Linked DNA regions of Homo sapiens: region 2 is linked to region 1. Evidence: promoter capture Hi-C in 16 types of primary human blood cells and fetal thymus (Javierre and others, 2016). All regions are on one chromosome and are shown on one strand. The core of a region is centred on a gene start or on the middle of the fragment in contact, and the rest is flanking DNA. Distances in the headings are between cores, read along the strand shown. Region 1 holds the start of BMP4 (bone morphogenetic protein 4). Region 2 overlaps LOC105370504 (a long non-coding RNA gene).

Region 1 (3,445 bases), core at 498-2,997:
GCCGCGCGGCTTTCGCCTTTGCTGGTCCCGCGCCACCGCTGGGGCGGGCTGCGAAAGGGTTGGGAAGAGCAAAGGGTTTTTTTGTTTTGTTTTGAGACGCAGAAGCCCTTTAAAAAGCCCGGCGAGGAGAGGTCCAGAAGTAGAGAAAGCAGACGGAGGCAAGCTGTGCCCGCGGGGCAAAGGGACAGTAGAAGGGGCGGGCGCCCGGGTTCCCCGGAAAACCCTCGGCCCCAAGGAATCTCCTGGGGCGGGAGAGCGCGGTTCTAAAACCGAGAGGATAGGAAGGGGAAGGGGGAGTTGTGTTTCAATTTCGGATTCACCAGGATTCATCTCTAGTCACATTTTTCTTCTCAAATTTTTAAATCGAAAAGATAAAAGCCAAAAGAACTTTCATCCCCAGAGCTTTTTATTGGGGGAAAGGAATGTAACTCGGGGTGGTTGTCCTTCACTTCCCTACTCGAATCTTCTCCTAATGCCGAAATGTGTTTACAGGTAGCCTCAGTTTACCAAGTATGTATCTTTTGGGGGTTTAACCTCTCACAAAGCCTTCAACTCACAAACCGCGATCCTTGGAAACCATCCTCCAAAGCAGTGCTTGGAGGCCTCTAAGGCCCCCGGACCAACTCCCGCTGGAAGAAGCCTGCAGGGACTCGGGAATCACGGGAACCTTTCCCGTCGGTTCCGGGCCTGGAGGGCCAGGAAGAGCCGCGCGTCCGCCTTTCGTCCCGCCAGGAACTCCCCATAGGACACGACACCGCAGGAACAAGCGTCCTGGGAGCCCCTGGGATCTTGGCTGTCGTCTCTAGGGACCCTACACCGTGAAATGATAGAGGCGAGGTTCCTTGGGTTCCGCAAGTCGACGAAAATAGCTCGTGGAGAAGGCGCGTCCTGCAACTGCAGTTCGCAAGCTCTCAGGGCGCCCCGCCAGCTGGGGGCCAGATTGGGTGACACTCCCCTCGACGCAGCCTCCGGAGCGGCGCGCACTCTCCAGAGGCCAGCAGGACTGCGCTCTCTACCGCAGAACCTGCTCCAGCTAGGTGTTCTCTCCCCATCTCGCCGTCGCTCTGCCCCCTCACTCTCTCTGGACCTCAGAGCCGGTTCTCTCCTTCCTCCTCCCGCGCTTTCCGTCCGGGGATCGCAACCTCCAGCCCGTGGGCAACGCGTTCAGCCCAAGACCCCACAGTTTTTCCCAACGACCCCCCTACCAAGGGCTTCTCTTGTTTCTGCTCTCCTGCCCCGCACTTCCCAAAGGTGAGAATCTCCCAGGGACTGCTGGACAGAGAAGGCCTGGGCAGGGGCAGTAGCCGATATTTAAAGGTCTTTCAGCGCCAGCATCCCCACCTCCAGCACCACTATTGGAAAATAATTAGGCCACCTTTTGCCTCGGTCACAGCCTGTGACCAGCTTCTTCCCCCCAAGGAGGCTCCTAGACCCCCTCTGCCTGTCTCCCCTCACCAGGTAGCCTTGCTCACCATAGGTCCCTGCAGTAGCGGGCTCGCCAGCAGCAGCTCCTGGGGACCTCTGAACGGTTGCAGTGAACCTGGGCGAGGGCCGGGGACTGTGGCGCTGCAGGCTCGAGATAGCTTGGACGGGAATCCCATCGGGGAGACAAGCTAGATACTCAGCCGGAGCAGCAGCGGCGTCTCAGGCTCGCGTCCCTCAGCTCGGATGCCACACTCACCTAGCTTCCGGGCCGGGCTCCGCGCTCCTTCCCTCCCTCCCTCCTCCTCTGCCTTCTCGCATCTTCCTTCCTCCTCTTTCCCTCCCTCGCTTTCTTTCTTTCCTTCCTCCTCCTCTTCCCCGGCGGCCCCTCCCTCCTTCCCTCCTCCCTCGCTCGCCTCCCTTTCTGGGGATGGGAGCCCCGCCCACATCCTCCCCTCCAGCCGCCCGACCTCGCCTAGCAGGCCCGGGTCCCGGAAGCCCAGGCAGCGCCCGAGTCCGCAGCTGCCGTCGGAGCTGGGACGCCGCTGCCTCCAGCTCTGGGAAGCGGCTGGGGCTCACCTGGGGACCACGTGCGGAGGTACTAGAAAGCATGCACCGACTAGTCGCCGTACCTTCCAAAAATACCCATGGGAGTCTGGGCTTCCCTGAGTTTAGTGTAACTGCTGCCCAAACTGATGATTAAAACACTGAGTAATCACCATTTACCCTGAGTAATTAGAGATAATGAAACACCTCTAAAATCAGGTTATGGAGAAAGGAGCTGTTGGATCGGTTTAAAAGGTGGCCTTCCATAAACTGTTAAAAGATTTCCAAACGTTGAGAAACAGGCTGTGTGCAGAACTGTGTGCCAGAGAGAGATACCTCTTGGGCTGTTAAAAGGTGAATTTCCTTCCAAAACATTCTTAAAGTGCGTTTTGTAGAACACCTTGGTGATGACCCTGAGGTAGACCCCAGTAAATGAGCTCACTTCCCTCCTCCCCCCAAGGCCTAAAGACAGAGGTGGCCTGCAGACAGGCTGGGGCCACGTTTTTTACAGTTAGAAAAATCTGTTTCTAGCTCAGAAGCCGTCTTAAGAACCGACACAGCAGTTATTTTTGTTGGTGTTATGGTTGTTGTTGATTTTTTTGTTCATTTTTGGTGTACCTAAGAGTCCTGACACTCTGTCTTTCCAAGGAGATAACCACAGAAGCAGTAACCTTTTAGGCCACAGGGAGACAAGAAAAGATGCCCCTTGGTCTGTTTTTAAAGGAAGAGGGGAGATGAGGAATTGGCCCTTTCATATAAAAACATTTTAGTAATCATATTAGCAGGGAGGTGGAATGTGGTGGCTTTTAAACCTTCCCAAACAGGAACTAATTTCACACACTGCCTCTGATGGAGCTGTGAGGGAGCTATCAGCCTCATCTCTCTGTTTTACAAACAAGGAAAGGCAGGACTACCAGGTTAAAGGGACTTGCCCAGATCTCTGAAGTAAATCACAGCCTCTGCTCCAGAGCTAATGCTTCAGGGAGGGGTTGAGGCTCATAGCCTGAGCTCCAGGTAGCCAGAGGAGTGCTGGAAGACTGAGCATTTCCTGTCCTGGATTTCTTTCCCTGGGACAGACATGACACTTTACTGTCTCTGCAAAGCATTTAGGTCTTTACTTAAACAGATATTGGCCCTGGGTGGCTCATCTATAAAAACTTTACGTTTATACACCTTCGATATTTAAAAAACAAGAACTACTTCCTGTGTGGAACACAGATTACAAAGGGTGGGAAATATCTGAGATCAGAGAAGCAACTGTCAGAGCAAGGCCAAGACATCCTGCCATCTTTTCCATCTATTAGGCCTAGGTCTTTTGGCCTAATGCACCAAACAACAGAAACAAGCTGTATGGCTTTGGGCAAGTCTTTTCATTCCTATGAGTCTCAGTTTTCTCATCTGCAGAATGAAAGGATTGGGCCAGATCATCTGCATGCTCCCTTTATATTTGAAAATGATTTGATTATTTAATTGTAAT
Region 2 (3,445 bases), core at 286-2,785, 530 kb before region 1:
TATACACCATGGAATACTAAGCAGCCATAAAAAAGGATGAGTTCATGTCCTTTGTAGGGACATGGATGAAGCTGGAAACCATCATTCTCAGCAAACTATCACGAGGACAGAAAACCAAACACCGCATGTTCTCACTCATAGGTGGGAATTGAAGAATGAGGTCACTTGGACACAGGGCGGGGAACGTTACACACTGGGGCCTGTTGTGGGGTGGGGACCTGGGGGAGGGATAGCATTAGGAGAAATACCTAATGTAAGTGATGTGTTGATGGGTGCAGCAAACCAACTTGGCACATGCATGCCTAGGTATCAAACCTGCCCGTTGTCCACATGTACCCTAGAACTTAAAGTATAATTAAAAAAAAAAGAAACTTCTAAATCATTTTCCAAAGTGGCTAAATCATTTTTCATTTCTAGGAGCAACGTGTAAAATTCTAATTGCGTAGCACCTATGTCAGCACTTGATATTTTCATCTTTGTTTCTTGCCAATCTAATAGATACATATTGGTATCTCATCATGGTTTTAATTTGCATTTACCCAACGACTAATGATGTTTAACATCTTTTAATGTGCTTATTTGACATTTTTTTTTTTTTTTTTTTTTTTTTTTGAGACGGAGTCTCGCTCTGTCGCCCAGGCTGGAGTGCAGTGGCGCGATCTCGGCTCACTGCAAGCTCCGCCTCCCGGGTTCACGCCATTCTCCTGCCTCAGCCTCCCGCGTAGCTGGGACTACAGGCGCCCGCCACCACGCCCGGCTAATTTTTTTGTGTTTTTTTAGTAGAGACGGGGTTTCACTGTGTTAGCCAGGATGGTCTCGATCTCCTGACCTCGTGATCCTCCCGCCTCGGCCTCCCAAAGTGCTGGGATTACAGGCATGAGCCACCGTGCCCGGCCTTATTTGACATTTTTATATCTCATTTGGTAAAGTGTTTAAATCTTTTGCCCATTTTTATATTCTTTTATTAAATTTTGAGAATTCCTATATTTTTGATTTAAGCTCTCTTTCAGATATGTGTTTTGGAAATATTTTTTTCCAGTCTGTGGATGGTTCTTTCATTTTCTTTACAGTGTCTGATGAACAAAAGTTTTAAATTTTGATAAAATTCAGTTTCAGCTTTTTCTTTTGTGTATCACGCTTTTTGTGTCGTGTCTTAGAAATCATTGCCTAACCCAAGGTCACGATTTTTTCCTGTATTTTCTTTTAGAAGTTTATAGATTGGTTTTTACATTGAAGTCTATGGTTGATATTAGGTGAATATTTATATACATATGGTATGAAGTATGAATCAAGATTCAGTCTTTTGTATATGGGTGTCCATTTGTTCCAGTATGATACTTTATTGCATTATCTTTGATATATTGTATTTTGATAAATAACATAAACCAGTAATCTGCATATATTGTCAAATGCTAGTTCATAAGCTTCTTTGGCTGGATTTGTTTTGTGTCACATGTGTAGCTAAGATAACAAACTATGCTTGAAGAGGATAATCGGTGCTTCTTAGGGCAGGTTGAATTTTCACATTTTTCTCCAATGTATCAGCACACATTCCACTTTATTTTGTGAGCTGACCCATTTAGAAGTCCTGACCTCCCTTAGAAAAAAAGCAAAACGTACTCTTTACTTTTGGGTTTGCTTAGTTTAAAGCTTTTCATAATTTTAAAACCAAAACTAGAATAAATTCCTAATTGATGGCTCTTTGGAATTTAGAATGCACTTTTGCATAGAAGTAATGTTTGTAAATGATGGTCATTCATAAAAGAAAAACTTCAGCATAATTAAATTTAAAGGAGTTTAATTGAGGAATGAGCAATTCGCAAATCAGGCAGCCTCCCGAGCCAGAGCAGGCTCTGAGACTCCAGCGCAGCTATGTAGGGGAAGAAGATTTATGGACAGAAAAGGGAAAGTGACATACAGAAAAGGGAAAGTGACGTACAGAAAATGGAAGTGAGGTACAGAAATAGCCAAATTGGTTACAGCTTGGCATTTGCCTTATTTGAACACCGTTGAAACAGTTGTCTACAGTTGATTGGCCAAAACTTGGTGATTGGCACAAATGTAGGCTACAGTTGGTTTACACTTCCACTTACTATAGTTCACAATGTACGGCAAAACCTTTAGGCCGAACTTAAAATATGTAAGGAGGTTTAGCTTTAGGCTAAGCTTGATTTAACATTACATACCCAGACTATCTTATAAATATTTGATTTATCTATCATGAAGAAGAAATACTATTTATAACAAGGATAAAACCAGCAAGTACATGGACCCCTGTGGAAGTTTTGATGAGAAATTACTGAAAAGATTTTAAGTATTATAGACACTGGTTCTTAAGTAGAACAAATTTAATCCCCAAGAATATGGCTTTCCTTTTTCTTGATACAGCAGCATGATTATTTTATGCATTACTCATGATGGTGTGGAGATGAGTGATAGTCATTAAATACTGATTATGTGCAATTAGATAAGGCTTTTCTTAAGTCATCTCATTCCTCTAAGAACTCTGTGAAGTAGCAAATTTATCTCCATTTTATGGATTTGAAAACTGACATTTAGAAAGGCCATACAATTTGCTCAACATCTCACAATTAATGCATTGGCTCTGGAATTAAAATTCAGTTCTGTCTGATTTCAGAGCTCACTATTCTCTGATGATTGGGTGAACATTTTGGCTAGTGAAATAAATGATGAAGGGAGAGAGATCCTCCTTCAAAGAGAGAGGATTGAGGAGAAAGGGAGTTAAAGGAGATGAGTGTATGTAAGTGAAAAAGGTTAAGGGAGAATTGAATGAACCCTGAGTGATGACTTAATAGAGGTAGATATATTCTGCCAAAAAGTCCTTGAAGAGGAATAAAAGAATAGGGTGTAGAAAAGGGAAGTCAAATAAAGGAGTTCTACCTTCTGACCACTAGGTGACACCATTGACAGAGAACACCTTGGCTGCTGTCTGGAGGTTGGTGGTGAGGGTGGTGGGGGGTGGTGCGTGAGGCAGGGAGCCAGGGAGAGACAGTGAAGAAGGTTTTAGGAGTAAGTTGCAGGTCATCCACATAAGGGACATTTGAAGCAGTCAGAAGTGATGTCAGTCACATGGAGAGTGCCTTATGGAGAAAGGCGTCCAAAGTGTATAGCCTGTTCAGGTGTCACTGTTGATCTTAATGTGAATCATTTCTATTTCTACCAAACACCAAGTAGGGAGGCAGTGTCAGTATAGGGATTAAGAGCAAGGAATCTGGAGCTTGGCTTTATAGGTCTGGAACCTGGCTCTGCCACCACCAACTCAGGCAAGTCACCCAATCTTTCTAAGCCTCAGTTCCTTTCTCTGTAAAAGGGATATAACAATATCTACCTCAAAGAGATGCTGTGCAGATTAAATGAAATGATAAATGTAAAGCACTTGGTATGGTGCCTTCCCCAAAACATACTTGTTTAATGCTGTCATTAT

What was found. The method cuts DNA at HindIII sites, captures the fragments that hold promoters and counts their contacts. A CHiCAGO score of 5 or more calls a contact.
Region 2: a contact is called between a fragment that was not itself captured here and the fragment with the promoter of BMP4 in region 1, in 1 of 17 cell types (endothelial precursors). The highest score is 6.1, in endothelial precursors.

The regions. Positions count from the first base shown.
Region 1 is chr14:53,955,078-53,958,522 of GRCh38, forward strand. BMP4 (bone morphogenetic protein 4) reads right to left here and starts at 1,748. Exons shown (of 4, transcript NM_001202.6): 1 at 1,473-1,748. LOC124903317 reads left to right here. Exons shown (of 2, transcript XM_047432035.1): 1 at 1-1,251. The coding sequence starts at 824. RefSeq lists promoters at 1-646, 1,574-3,445, 1,574-2,916 and silencers at 872-981, 1,631-1,710. The HindIII fragment of the contact is 12,206 bases long and covers 1-3,445 here.
Region 2 is chr14:53,429,547-53,432,991 of GRCh38, forward strand. The region is part of intron 2 of LOC105370504 (a long non-coding RNA gene); the gene reads left to right. Among named protein-coding and RNA genes, the nearest start is that of DDHD1-DT, 280 kb to the left of the region's middle. The HindIII fragment of the contact is 226 bases long and covers 1,423-1,648 here.